Regions from separate parts of the Homo sapiens genome. Here regions 1, 2, 4 and 5 are each linked to region 3. The links are contacts of gene promoters, found by promoter capture Hi-C in blood cells and fetal thymus (Javierre and others, 2016). All regions are on one chromosome and are shown on one strand. Each heading gives the region's core, a stretch centred on a gene start or on the middle of the fragment in contact. The rest is flanking DNA. Distances are from core to core; before and after follow the strand shown. Region 1 overlaps FAM135A (family with sequence similarity 135 member A). Region 2 overlaps FAM135A (family with sequence similarity 135 member A). Region 3 holds the start of B3GAT2 (beta-1,3-glucuronyltransferase 2). Region 4 holds the start of SMAP1 (small ArfGAP 1). Region 5 overlaps FAM135A (family with sequence similarity 135 member A).

Region 1 (2,700 bases), core at 20-2,519, 460 kb after region 3:
ACTCCTGACCTCAGGTGATCCGCCCGCTTCGGCTTCCCAAAGTGCTGGGATTACAGGCGTGAGCCACCGCACCCGGCCAAAAACATCATTTTTAAGGCTGTATAACTTAGATTACAAGTATCCCATAATTTGTTTAACTATTCTACCATTGGGCATTTATTAAACATTTTTACAATATTATGAATCTTCACATGAACTCTGTTTAGCTTTTGGTATACACTAAGAGGAGATATTTTTTCTGGCTGTGGATACGTACTGCCAAACTAATCCCTGAAAAAGACATACAAGGTATGAGAATTTGTATCTCACCATGTCTCAAGACGCATTATAATATGTTATAGGTTGTTGATGTTAAAGTTTATGACAACCATTTACATACTGAAATTTAAATATGTATATCTAAAAAATTTATTAGCAATACATGGATACATATGTTATTTTTAAACATTTAATATAGACGCATGTAAAGAAAATTCCCCTTTACAAACCTTATTCGTCACGCCACTTTTTTTCTGTATTACTGTTAAAAGCTTGGAATATATATATCCTTTCAAATATTTCATATGTAATCACATAAACACAATAAAATACACAAACAGCTTTTTAGTTTTAACATACTATATGAAATCATATTATTCATATTTTTCTTTATTTTTTTCAATTAATATATCTTGAAGAGTTTTCAGCACGCAAACAGTATCAAGCTTCATGGATTAATAAATATTTTCTGAATTAAATAATTCATGACAATTTCATAGAGATCCACCTAATGCTTTTAAATGGCTACATGGGAATTGATAATAATTAATGATGTAATTCCTTATATTTGTGTACATTTATGAGTATTTTTGTAGAACAGATTATCAAATAAAAACTGCTGTGCAGATTTGATAATTGTGCAATATATAAGTGTTTTAAAAATACATCAATGCACTAATGTTAAAAAATACTGTGCCAATTTATACCATCACCAACAGGGTATGCAGATACTAGTTTCACTACACTCTTACAAAAAATGAAGCTCAGTAGTCACTTTTATTCTTGCAAATTTCATAGGCAAAAAAAATAACCTATTAGAATCTGCATTCCCCTGGTTTCCAGTAAGAATGAGTATCATTTCAGGAGCTAAATTATTCTGCTAAGAATTTGTTATTTGTACACTGCCTCATTGTATCCTTTTTTTTTTTTTTTTACAAGGGTGTTGTTTTAAAATTGATACATGAGAGCATGTTATATATTGTGAGCACTGACCATTAGCCTGTTTTAAATATTGCAAATATTCTCTTCCAGTCTATCCTTTGCTTTCAAATTTATAGTATATTTTGTTACAAAGAAATTTCAAATCATCAATGTCTTATTTTGTCCCTTAGGTTTTTATTGGTCTTTAAAAAACTTATCTTTTTAAAAATTGTCTGAGGGAGTCATTTCATATCCCAAGATCAGATTGTTTATATTTACATATATATGTAATTTTTTTCTTCCTAATTTCTTTGGACACTTAAGTCTTCAGTCCACTTAGAACTGCTGCTATAGCATGGCATGACGTTAACTTTACCACAATATTTATAGACCCTGATGTTAATATTTTATCATATACTTAGTTATTAAACATAATAGTGACTATTTTAGGGCTGTTTAATTCCTCTGACTTGTCTTTTTATTCTTTTAGAGAAATCCTACCTTATTTCCTTTCATTTTTATTATTTTACATATATTTTAGTATCCAGTCGAGCAAGTCTTTCTACATTTGTATTATTTAAAAATTACATTATTTTAAAAAAAGTTTTTCTTAGCCATCTTTACATTTCTTGAAATGATTTTAAAAACAAGCTTAAATTTCCAGTGGGATTTTGGTTTGGACTCATTAAAATGATTGACTGGAGTAAAATTTGATATCTTTTAGTGATTATCTACAGGAGTATCATATGTATATTTATTCAAATTTTCTTTAATAGCTCAGTGAAACACTGCAGATGATTTCATATTAACTGCACACATCTTAAGATTATTTTTAAATGTTTAATGTTCTTTTGAGCAATTATCATAAGCACATTAGTGACTTTTTTAAAGAAAATATCTTACTTGAACTGCAGAGAAAACCTCTAGGACAGTATACAAAACTGATGTATCCTGCGTATGTATAATTTTCTAAGGAGAATACCTTTTTGAACAGGTCTAGTCTTCATTCAAATTTATATCCAAAAGTATATCCAAACCAAATACATATTTTTGTTTGATTCACACCTCTGATTTCTTCCATTAATGTAGCTGACCAAGAGTGAATGCATAGTGAAACATACATTTAAATAGTTAAAGCATTTAGTTTCTCAGAAAAAGAAAGGCAAATATATTCAATTTAATTGCAAGAGTGAACTGAAAAAATGATCTGAGAAGCAAATTGATCTACTGAAATAAAACAAATTTTTCATTTTTAAACAGTATCATTTTACAAGTTTAAGTGATGTTTTAAAAATGTGTCCAGAAATTGAGTGAGTGAACAGAAGAAAATGTACTGTTTGATCAGTTAATTATCTTTGCTATTTCATTTATATGAAGAATAATATACTTTTTAAAAGGTAAGTTAACTTCATGCTGAAGCCAAATGAATTTTGACCACCTAAGTTGTGGTTCTACCATGATCAACCATTTTATCTTTGCATTTTAGGAACTATAAATACTTTAAGTTTTCATAGACAAAAT
Region 2 (2,700 bases), core at 50-2,549, 410 kb after region 3:
GTGCTTCAGTGTCCTCATCTGCAAAGTGGGGACAATATTCCTACCCTAGAGGGTTAAATAAGCTAATATGTATGTGTTTAAATCACACCTAGAACGTGGTAAATGTTACATGTGTATTAGCTATTATTATTTTTCCAGTATTTTAGTATTAACCAATGCATTAGTCACAATTACTAGAAAATGGTACTCTTTTTCTTTTTGAGATGGAGTCTTGCTCTGTTGCCCAGGCTGGAGTATAGTGGCAGGATCCCGGCTCACTGCAGGCCTCCAACTCCTGGGTTCAAGCAATTCTCCTGCCTCAGCCTTCTGAGTAGCTGGGATTACAGGTGTGCGCCACCACACTGGACTAATTTTTTTGTATTTTTAGTAGAGACAGGGTTTCACCATGTTGGCCAGACTGGTCTCAAGCTCCTGACCTCAGGTGATCCACTCACCTTGGCCTCTCAAAGTGCTGGGATTACATGCATGAGCCACCGTGCCCAGCCAGAAAATAGTACTCTTTAGTGTTTTTTCCCAGAATGGATATTAATTCAATTCAGGTATATACTAATAAACTCGTGAGTACAAAGAGAAATCTTAAAACATAAAAACAATTTTAAGTCATTCAAATAATTTTTATAGCTAGTAATATCAGCATTTAGATAAAAGTTCTGTTAAAAAAATTTTCCTAAGATAGATATATATTGTTTGTGTAAAAGTCAATTTCTGTAATCTATAATACTCGTGGTTTTTTTTGTTTGTTTGTTTTTGTTTGTTTTTTTTTTGAGACAGAGTTTCAGTCTTGTTGCCCAGGCTGGAGTGCAATGGTGCGATCTTGGCTCACTGCATCCTACGCCTCCTGGGTTCAAATGATTCTCCTGCCTCAGCCTCCCTAGTAGCTAGGATTATAGGCACCCGCCACCACGCCTGGCTAATTTTTATATTTTTAGTAGAGATGGGGTTTCACCATGTTGGCCAGGCTGGTCTCGAACTCCTTTCCTCAGGTGATCCACCTGCCTCAGCCTCCCAAAGTACGGGGATTACAGGCGTGAGCCACTGTGCCTAGCGCTAGTGGGCTTTATTTTTTTTTAAGTTTTTGAGACAAAGTCTGGCTCTATCCCCCGCTGGAGTGTAGTGGCACAACCTCAGGTCACTGCAGCCTCCACATCCCTGGTTCAAGCAATTCTTGTGCCTCAGCCTCTGGAGTGGCTGGGATTACAGGTACACATGACCATGCCTAGCTAATTTTTGTATTTTTTTGTAGAGATGAGGTTTCACCATGTTGCCCAGGCTGGTCTTCTTTTTTTTGGGATGGAGTTTTGCTCTTGTTGCCCAGGCTGGAGTGCAATGGCGAGATCTCGGTTCACTGCAACCTCCGCCTCCCAGGTTCAAGCGATTCTCCTGCCTCAGCCTCCCGAGTAGCTGGGATTACAGGCATACACCACCATGCCTGGCTAATTTTGTATTTTTAGTAGAGATGGGGTTGGTCAGGATGGTCTCGAACTCCCAACCTTAGGTGATCTGCCTGCCTCAGCCTCCCAAAGTGCTGGGATTACAGGCGTGAGCCACCATGCCCAGTGTCCAGGCTGGCCTTAAACTCCTAAGCCCAAGCAATTCACCTGCCTCAGCCTCCCAAACTGGAGAGATTACAGGTGTGAGCTACCGCACCTAGCTTATGATATTTCCGCACCTAGCTTATTTAAGTCATTTATTCATTTTTTTTTTTTTACCATTTACTAAGTTTTGAACTCTACAGAATCACTTTACACATATTATCTCATTTAATCCTTTTAATAATCTTATGAGATACTACTATTCTCATTGACCAATAAGGAAACGAGTTTATTTAAATTAGGTAGCCTAGTCAGTGTTTGAACTATAACTAATACCTATGTGTGATGTCAGAGTTTGGTTCTTAACAGTTTTAGACTAGTACAACCAGATCACGCACTATAAGGCAAATAATAAATTAATAACTTAAAAGAAAAAAATTGAACTAATCTTTACAGTTATATTTTCTTTACAGTTTAGATATTCTTATGTTGCTATTATTATTGCTAATTAAATGTTACTTTGTATAATGCTGTATAAAGACATAGACCTCAGGAACACTTATGTTCAGCTTTGCCTTTCACGTATTTCCTAACCTGTCAGCAAAGGGTATGAACTCCATAGCTCCACACAACGGTTCTAGCTAATATTGTTTTTCTCACATAAGAAGCATATGCCATGTTTCATTTTGTAGGAATATTTTGTAATTTGATCAATCAAGTATATATTTCTGTATACTGTAAGAAACTTACCATTGATGCTCTGTATCATTACAAACAAAATCATAAAACCCAATCTATAAGAGAATTTTCCTTTCACTGATTCTAATAGTAGACAGTACATGTAATAATCATTCCCAAATCTCTTTCTCATATTAAGAACAACATTTAAGGCAGAATCCTGAAAAAGCTAAAACAGGACTCAAAAGCAGTGGTATTTTCAATAACTAAATCTATTAATATCAAATATTTCAAGAGTAGAATGGAAGACATGGGTGATAGGAATGAGGATAAGAACAGATGTAGGTTTAAATGGCCAGGGCTTAAGTTCACAAATTCAAGTAACTTCAGACTTGGAACTACCAGTCGCTGAATATATGGGCTAGATTTACATCTTACTATATAATATTTAAACTGTTTTTGAATATTGAAAATAATATTAAAAATATCA
Region 3 (2,772 bases), core at 163-2,662:
AGCCAATGCCTTTTAACAGGTGGGGGGTTCAGGGGTAGGACTGGGAGAAGAGGAGCTGTCAGAAAAGCTGGAGAGCCATTCGCCCCAGAGCTCTCAGTTGCACCAGAACGCACAGTCGGAGAGAGATTTATTTGTGAACAAGCCCGAGAAAGGCAGACAACCCAGACAAGATGGGCTCAGAAATTATTTATCATAGGCTAGGGCAGAACAGTCTGGAGCTTTCCTTCTGCTTTGCAAGCACTTCCCTGGGACCTGCCTGGGAAGCACAGCCCTTCTTCCTGGTAAGTTACAGAAGGTCAGGCACTCAGCTAGTAGGCCAGCTAGACAGCAAAAAGTGTCTAAACTAAGTGCCAACTGTTTACTTGGGGTCTTCCAGACCCTATCATGGTTCTATTCGTCATGGTACACTCTGTTTGATTTCAATCGCACCATCTTTATATGTAGGAAGGCCAAACCGGCCCGGCTGTGTTGGGTGGGATTTCTGCAGGCCATGCAGTGAGGACGCCACTAGCTATAGACACACGCAGGAGACCCACGTTCTATTTCCATATGCCACTTGCCACTGACCTCAGAGAAATCATTTTAAACCCTGAACCTCAGCTTCCTTATCCTGAAAATGAAGGCCATTCTACTTCTTAGGCCTTCTTGACAGGAGCCTTGGGAGAGCCAAACGGAGTAATTCCGGTGACAGCGAAGAACTGGGAGGGACCGTGACTCCAAATTACTGAAGAAAAATAAGTTAAACATGCTCGGCTGGAGTTTTAGGAATTCCACCCGCCCCCACCCGCCATGATCAAACTGCAGTCAGGCAGCAGCCCTCCGAATTGATTCTTTCTTATGGACTGTCTCACATGCCAAACACCTATGTGCAGCACCCCTCCATCTCCGTGGGCTCCTATTGATGTCTGCCTTGCAGTGAAAGCGCTTTTTGTTGCCGCTGTTCGATACACCCCAGCACATCAACGCAGCAGCTGGGAGCAGGAGGAGGAATCCCTTCGCTTTCTCCCCTCCTTTCACTCCGAACCCTAGGCATCAGCAGCAACGCGCGTAGCCCGGCAAATTTCCGCACGTGAATGGATTTTCCTGGCTCATCTCCAAAGACCTTGCGGTATTTCACAAAGCTGAAGAGAGGTGAACGAGCATCACCCCCTCCAGGAGGTCGTGCAGCCCCGCGGGGACGCTCCTCCCGCTCCTCCACCCGCGGTGCAGCGGCCGCCTCCCGAGCTTGCTCGCGGGGCCGTTAGCGCCAGACCCGGCGGAGAGCCAAGGGGTCCCTCCGCGCCTCCCTCTCGCAGCCCCTCTCCACCAGTAGCAGCGCTGCTGTCTTCCCACAGGAGGACTTGGGAGGACGCTGGATTCTGCAGCGCCCCCGCCCCCTCGCTTTTTCTTTCTTTCCTTGCTTTGGGATCTTGCTGCTGGATCCGGAGAGGTTCTGAGAAGACAAGAGCAAGGGACTGAGAGCAGGCTTCCGCTGCGGCGCGCGAACACAGCCGGGACACAACCCCCAGCGTCTCCACCCGCTCCTCGCCACCCCGGCGGGAATGTGAGGAAGGAAAGCCCCCAGCGCCGCCGCCCGCCCTCGAAGGCGTCCCAGAGAGCGTCCTGGGGGCCCGCGGCTGGAGCCCTTGTGCCCGCAGCACCGCCGGACTGGAGCGGCGAGGCGCACCGGGTGCCGCTTCTCGGCTTCCACTCTTCAGAAAGAGCGCGGTGGGGATCAGCGCCTTTCCCGCACTCGGCACAACTCCGGGACCGGCGGCGCGCGGCTGGACCGAGTCCCGCTTCCCGCCAGCTCACCTGGAGTCGGGGGCAGCCCCTGCCCGCCCGCCTGCACCCCTTGTCGCTCTAGCTTGCGCGAACCTGCCGCTCCTCCACGCCCAGGTAGTGAGCCCCGCGGCTCCAGGTCTCTGCAGCGCCCTCGGCCCCATGGACAGCGCACCCATCACCACTCCCTAAGTGCTGGCGCCGCCGCTGTCCAAGCTGCGCACTGGGGTCCCTCGGCTCGCCCCTCTCTGGGGTGTCCGAGAGGCCAGGGAGCGTGCACCATGAAGTCCGCGCTTTTCACCCGCTTCTTTATCCTCCTGCCCTGGATCCTAATTGTCATCATCATGCTCGACGTGGACACGCGCAGGCCAGTGCCCCCGCTCACCCCGCGCCCCTACTTCTCTCCCTACGCGGTGGGCCGCGGGGGCGCCCGACTCCCGCTCCGCAGGGGCGGCCCGGCTCACGGGACCCAAAAGCGCAACCAGTCTCGGCCGCAGCCACAGCCGGAGCCGCAGCTGCCCACCATCTATGCCATCACGCCCACCTACAGCCGCCCGGTGCAGAAAGCGGAGCTGACCCGCCTGGCCAACACGTTCCGCCAGGTGGCGCAGCTGCACTGGATCCTGGTGGAGGACGCGGCGGCGCGCAGCGAGCTGGTGAGCCGCTTCCTGGCGCGGGCCGGGCTGCCCAGCACTCACCTGCACGTGCCCACGCCGCGGCGCTACAAGCGGCCCGGGCTGCCGCGCGCCACTGAGCAGCGCAACGCGGGCCTCGCCTGGCTGCGCCAGAGGCACCAGCACCAGCGCGCGCAGCCCGGCGTGCTCTTCTTCGCTGACGACGACAACACCTATAGTCTGGAGCTCTTCCAGGAGGTAAAGGCCAGCCTGCCCCGCTGGGTGGGCGAGGGCGGGAGTGGGCCTCCGGGCCGGCCGGGCTGCAGTCACACGCCCCTTGCACTCCGGGTGCACTTTTGAGTTCTCAGTTCTCCGTGCGCGCATTCGGGGCACCGAG
Region 4 (2,700 bases), core at 178-2,677, 290 kb after region 3:
TATAGTATTGAGATAGAACAGTAAAGCTTCAGGAAAAGTCTAAGTCAAATAACACAGAAATCTTAAAGGACATTCCCCAAAGAGACTGTCTCCTGCTTTAGAGAACTACCCTATTTCTCACCCAATAACGAAATAAACCAATTAAAAATATACACGATCTTTTCTTAACTACACAAGACATTTCTTTAAAAAAAAAAGAAATATTTCCCTTGAGATTACTTACAAGACATTAAACATAAATCAGATCTCCAAACACAAAACATAGCAGCTAAAAATAGTATATCTGTTTCAAAGGCTGAGGCAGAAGCCCTCCAACCGAAAAAACTAAAATTAGGTTTTTTCCATCTCTAGATCTTTAAAATGAACCTTCAGCATTTATGAGGTACACAAATCAGTGTCCACATATTCTCCCAAACTAGCTGGTCAGAGAAAACCTAATTACTAAAATCTTCAGAAATACAAACCCACCGTCCTCCAAGAGACTCATGTAATGAAATTCCTCTTCATTCTGGCTAATAACCAGACTAAAAAACAATACTACTACTAATAAAGACCTTTCTCCAATTAATTTATTCCGTAAAACTCAAACCCACCGAAAAAGACCACCATACTCTTTTTCAGGAAGCAGAGATAAAAGCCTTGTACAAAAGCTGTCAGGTGGGCAGGCAGGTAGGGCTCCATCTAGGAGACCAAGAATCCGAGCCCGGAGTGGGAGGACGTGGTCACACCGGAGGGTAGAGGAGGGGATCCAGACCTAAGCGCGGCCCCACCCACAGAGATAGCTATGAGCAGAGCTAGGAGGGCAACTCTCTAACCCTAAGCTCTGCCCAGACCCGTGCCCGGTTCCGCGCTCCCAGCCTCGCTCCTACCCCCAGCCCTGTGGAGGGTCCGAGCATCGCTACCCTGGCACCTGCTCAAACCCGTGTCTGGGAGGAGGGGAGGCTGGGGCCACTGACAGGGCCTGCGGGCCTGACCTCGCCGCCGCCTCTGGCGGACTTGAGGGTCGACAGGAGCCCCGCGCCCGCCCGCTCAGCCACCCGCCCTCCAGTCAGGGCAGGAGCCGGCCAGCGAAGCCGAGGCGTCCGCTCGGGCCCCGAGCGCCGCAGCGGCGGGAAGGTCACCGGTCGCAAGAGGCCCCGACCGTGGGCAGCGACGACGTCCAAGCTACCTTTGGCCTCGCAGTCGGCGCAGTACTTGTTGTCCTCCTCCCTCAGAAGCTTGGATAGGATGAGCTGGTGCTGCTCGTTCAGCTTCTGAGCCTTCTCCCGACAGGAGCGCGTCGCCATCTCGGCAGCGGGGCGGGGAGCCTGGGGCAGCTACGGCGGCGGCGGACGCTGGCTGGAGCCGGGCAGAGTGAACGCACCTGGCGCCGCCGGGACCGCGGGCGGACTCAGCCCAGGAAGCGGCAGCGGCAGCTGGAACGGGAGGAGGGGCGGCGGCGGCGGTGGCGGTGGTAGCGCCGACGTGTCCCGCCTCCTTGACCGGCCTGCCGGCACGCACCACCCTAGCCGGCGAGGGGAGGGGGAGGGGGACTGGGTCGCGCCGAGGCTTCCGGGTGGCGCGGAGGAAGGAACCCGGGCGCCGAGCGCGCTGCGCATGCGCCGAACCTACGGGGCCCGGGCTGCCGAGTCTTTTTGCAAAAAGGCCTTCTGCCCAAGGTGATTCCCGAAAGGTAGCTGGCACTGCCTCATACGAGCTTTCCCCCCTTTTGAGATGTGATGGTCCGCAAGGGCCTCTAGTAAAACCCAGTAATGGAAGACCTTTTACAAGAAGCCTACTTTGACTTGCCCATTTGCCTTTGCTCTTGCTGGCACAACATTGGAAATGCAGAAATAACTAGCGACTGGGTGGGTTCATTTACTCATTCGAGGTTTATTCGCCTGCAGTTTAGAAGCTGGAGACACGGATGGAAGAAAAGAGGAAAAACGGTCTCTTACATTTTAAGGGCGAGAAATAATCTAGTAGTGACATGTATTAGGGGATAACATTTCATTGAGTGATTACTCTGTTAAACGAACTGTTAGCTCATTTAACCCTTTCCCCAACCTTATGATATTGTTATCCTCATTACACAGGGGAGGAAAGTGAGGCATAGAGGAGTTAAGTAACCTGACCAGATTACAGAACTACTAGTGGAGGAGTTGAGATTTAAATCCAAAGCAGTCTGGCTCCAGAGTCTGAAAGACCTGGCAGTAAGCCCTTCCATAAGGGGGAAAGTGTGACCAGGAACCCAAGTACTAGGCGGTGATACTTTAACAAGAAGCTGTGTAAATAGTGATCCTTAATGCAAGAGAAAGAGAACTAAAGAAAACACTTTTCATTGGAACCCAGACCCTAATCCAGGCTCATGAAGTTTGAACTCCGGGTGACGCAGTTTCGATGATTTGGCATGTTGTATATTATGAGGAAGTTCTAATATGGGGCTTATGCAAGCCAAATAAACACAGTCCTTGCCTGCGATGAAGCAGATGCTAAGAAAGGCAATGAGCAAGAGTCGGTCTTACACTTCTTAGTAAGGCCAATTTCTAGCCCCTGTCCCTGCATAAAAGTGACCCTCATTGCTACCTAGCCCTGTTCTTGGCACAGGGGCTCAAAAATGTTTCTGGAATTAAATTGAATGGATATGGCAATGAAGATGCTCAGTAATTAAACAAATTAGAGCTTATACTACATAGCTCTGACAAATAACTACTAGGGAGA
Region 5 (2,700 bases), core at 168-2,667, 490 kb after region 3:
AAACGTCAAGAGGGGTATACAGGAGGATTTTACAGTACTAGTAATGTTCTATTTCTTAAATGAAAGGTTGGGTACCTGGGTGTTCATTTTATTATTTAATAAAATACTGTGTTATGTAATCGTCAAAAAATGTGCAATATATTTCATAATGCAAAGTTACACATTCACTATATAGCTGCTTTGTGCCATGGATTTTCTCAGCTAAGTGGACTGAACAAAAAAACCAACCATTTTCCCTGACCTCACCTAATTCTGTAAATTACATCTACACTAAGTGTACAGAAGACAGAGTGCTATGACATCTTACAATATGGGGGTGAACTTAGGCTGTGAAACCAGGAGAGGCTTTGTTGACAACATAGCATTTGAGTTGAAACACCATGAAAAAGAGTTAGTCAAATGAAGATAAAAGGGAAGAGCCTTTCAGGAGGAAGAAATGGAGATTTCTCGAAGGCAAGGACCTTGTCTCATTTATTTCTTACTTCATGTTAGTATTATGAACATGATCAGCACTTATGGATGTGGAGAAACTGAAACTCTTGTGTACTGTTGGTGAAAACGTGAAACAGTATAGCTGCTGTGCAAAATACTATGGGGGTTCCTCAAAAAATTAAAAATAGAACGACTGGCCACACACAGTGTGTGGCTCACGCCTGTTATCTTAGCACTTTAGGAGGCCGAGGCAGGAGGAACAGTTGAGTCCAGGAGTTCAAGATTAGCCTGGGCAACAAAGTTAGGCTCCATATGTACAAAACATATGTGACTCATGGGGCTGAGGTAGGAGGACTACTTAAGCTCAAGAGGTCGAGGGCAGTGAGCCTTGATTGCACCCCTGCACTCCAGCCTGGATGACAGAACGAGACCCTGTCTCAAAAAATAAAAATAATAAAAATAGAACTACTATATAATCCAGCATCTCACTTCTAGGTATTTATCCAGAAGAACTGATAAAAGAGGGTCAAAGAGATGTTTGCACACTCACATTCATTGAAGCATTATTTATAATAGTCAAGAGGTAGAAAAAACATAAATGTCTATCTACAAATTAATGGATAGTGTGGTATGTACATATTAAAGAATATTATTCAGCCTTAGAAAAGAAAATCCTGTCATAGCTACAACATGGAAAAACCTTAAGGACATTATGCTAAGTGAAATAAGCCAGTCACAGAAAAGCAAATACTGCATGACTCCACTTATATGAGGTATATAAAGCAGTCAAACTCATAGAAACAGAAAGCAGAATGTGGGTTGACAGGGGGTAGGAAAATGGGGAGTTGCTGTTCAATGGTATAGAATTTCAGTTATTCAAGATAACAAAATTTTAGGTCAGGTGTGGTGGCTCATGCCTATAATCCCAGCACTTTGGGAGGCCAAGGCAGGTGGATCACTTGAGGTCAGGAGTTTGTGACCAGCCTGGCCAACATGGTGAAACCCCATCTCTACTGAAAAAAAAAAAAAAAAAAAAAAAAAAAAATTGGCCAGGCGTGGTGGTGCATGCCTATAATCCCAGCTACTTGGGAGTCTGAGATGGGCGAATCGCTTGAACTGGGAAGACGGAGGTTGCAGTGAGCCGAGATCACACCACTGCACCACTTCGGCCTGAGTGACAAAGTGAGACTGTCTCAAAAAAAAAAAAAAAAGAAAAAAAAGAAAGAAAGAAAGAAAGAAATTTAAAAAAATAAATAACTGAAATATTGTTCTGTTATTCCTTTTTACACTTTAATGTTATTATCAAACTGAAGGGTCTGGGAAACAAAAGACCTAAACGTGTATGCTAAGATTACTGTCTTGAATCTGAAACTTTGTTTTCTAATATTTGCTAGATGATAACAACTCCATTAAGTCAGAAACCACATTAATCTTTTTCACTGCTTTAATTTAGGACTGAGCACTTAGGTCTCACACATAGTAGGCAGTCATAAAGTATTTATTTAATAAATGAATGTTCGTCTAACTTCTTAATTTAATATCCTATTTCCTTGTTCAAATGACTTGATTTTTATTTTGCCTATCAGTTATCTGCTAACACAAACATTCAGATCTATAGTTTTAAAGACTTGAGATAATTAGAGGCTTCTAAATGCTTACATTCAATCATGATAATTTATATTTTATTTCTATCACTATCTGCATTTCCGTTTCCTTTGGTTAAAAGTTAGCACTGGTATCTTTCATTTACTTTGTGACCAAGTGACTATTCATTCAACCATAATTTATTAAGTCTCTCAACTACTGGGAAGTAAAAGACATGAACATAAGTAAGAACTCTGCCCACTTTCAGAGCTCCCAGTCTAGTTTGGATAGAAACATTCAAATAAATAATTGCAGTACAATGTGATAATCTCTTAACTGCCTATTTCAGCAGGCCAAAGCAAATAGCAATCTAACACTATCTCTTAAACCAGGTAAAAAGACAATTAAAGGGCAATGATAGAAGCTGTTGAATCTGAGGAAAGCAAAATGGAGGCTTGCCAAATGACTTCCATTTTGTAATCTATGCAGTTTAATTCAAGGACCTAACTTTATGGTGAGTTTTCCATTTATGGCTGTTGAGATTATTCAATTACTGATAACAGTAAAGGATTAGTGACATAATATGAAATGTCTCTAGCTATATGTTTAACTTTTCCTCATTTTTTTTTAAAGCACTGTTCTTTAATGGTGATTGATGTTTGTTTTAGTAGAATCCCATTTCTG

Evidence for each region. The method cuts DNA at HindIII sites, captures the fragments that hold promoters and counts their contacts. A CHiCAGO score of 5 or more calls a contact.
Region 1: a contact is called between a fragment that was not itself captured here and the fragment with the promoter of B3GAT2 in region 3, in 2 of 17 cell types (fetal thymus and naive CD8 T cells). The highest score is 5.7, in fetal thymus.
Region 2: a contact is called between a fragment that was not itself captured here and the fragment with the promoter of B3GAT2 in region 3, in 3 of 17 cell types (erythroblasts, megakaryocytes and fetal thymus). The highest score is 5.6, in erythroblasts.
Region 4: a contact is called between the fragment with the promoter of SMAP1 here and the fragment with the promoter of B3GAT2 in region 3, in 7 of 17 cell types (fetal thymus, activated CD4 T cells, naive CD8 T cells and 4 more). The highest score is 7.9, in fetal thymus.
Region 5: a fragment that was not itself captured here is called in contact with the fragment with the promoter of B3GAT2 in region 3 in 1 of 17 cell types (naive CD4 T cells); the score reaches 5.0 in naive CD4 T cells.

What each region holds. Positions count from the first base shown.
Region 1 is chr6:70,491,149-70,493,848 of GRCh38, reverse strand. The region is part of intron 11 of FAM135A (family with sequence similarity 135 member A); the gene reads right to left. Among named protein-coding and RNA genes, the nearest start is that of SDHAF4, 74 kb to the left of the region's middle. The HindIII fragment of the contact is 1,126 bases long and covers 707-1,832 here.
Region 2 is chr6:70,543,116-70,545,815 of GRCh38, reverse strand. All of the region lies in intron 20 of FAM135A (family with sequence similarity 135 member A), which reads right to left. Among named protein-coding and RNA genes, the nearest start is that of SDHAF4, 22 kb to the left of the region's middle. The HindIII fragment of the contact is 4,082 bases long and covers 1-2,700 here.
Region 3 is chr6:70,955,700-70,958,471 of GRCh38, reverse strand. It overlaps B3GAT2 (beta-1,3-glucuronyltransferase 2), which reads left to right and starts at 1,412. Exons shown (of 4, transcript NM_080742.3): 1 at 1,412-2,633. The coding sequence starts at 2,043. It overlaps LOC124901229, which reads right to left and starts at 2,044. Exons shown (of 2, transcript XM_047419611.1): 1 at 1,944-2,044; 2 at 1-1,840. The coding sequence starts at 2,044. The coding sequence ends at 1,114. RefSeq lists an enhancer at 1,637-2,152 and silencers at 2,081-2,210, 2,681-2,772. The HindIII fragment of the contact is 6,068 bases long and covers 1-2,772 here.
Region 4 is chr6:70,666,610-70,669,309 of GRCh38, reverse strand. SMAP1 (small ArfGAP 1) reads right to left here and starts at 1,427. Exons shown (of 11, transcript NM_001044305.3): 1 at 1,169-1,427. The coding sequence starts at 1,286. RefSeq lists silencers at 686-745, 866-1,095, 1,246-1,645. The HindIII fragment of the contact is 2,958 bases long and covers 1,220-2,700 here.
Region 5 is chr6:70,463,611-70,466,310 of GRCh38, reverse strand. The region is part of intron 5 of FAM135A (family with sequence similarity 135 member A); the gene reads right to left. Among named protein-coding and RNA genes, the nearest start is that of FAM135A-AS1, 51 kb to the right of the region's middle. The HindIII fragment of the contact is 3,869 bases long and covers 1-2,700 here.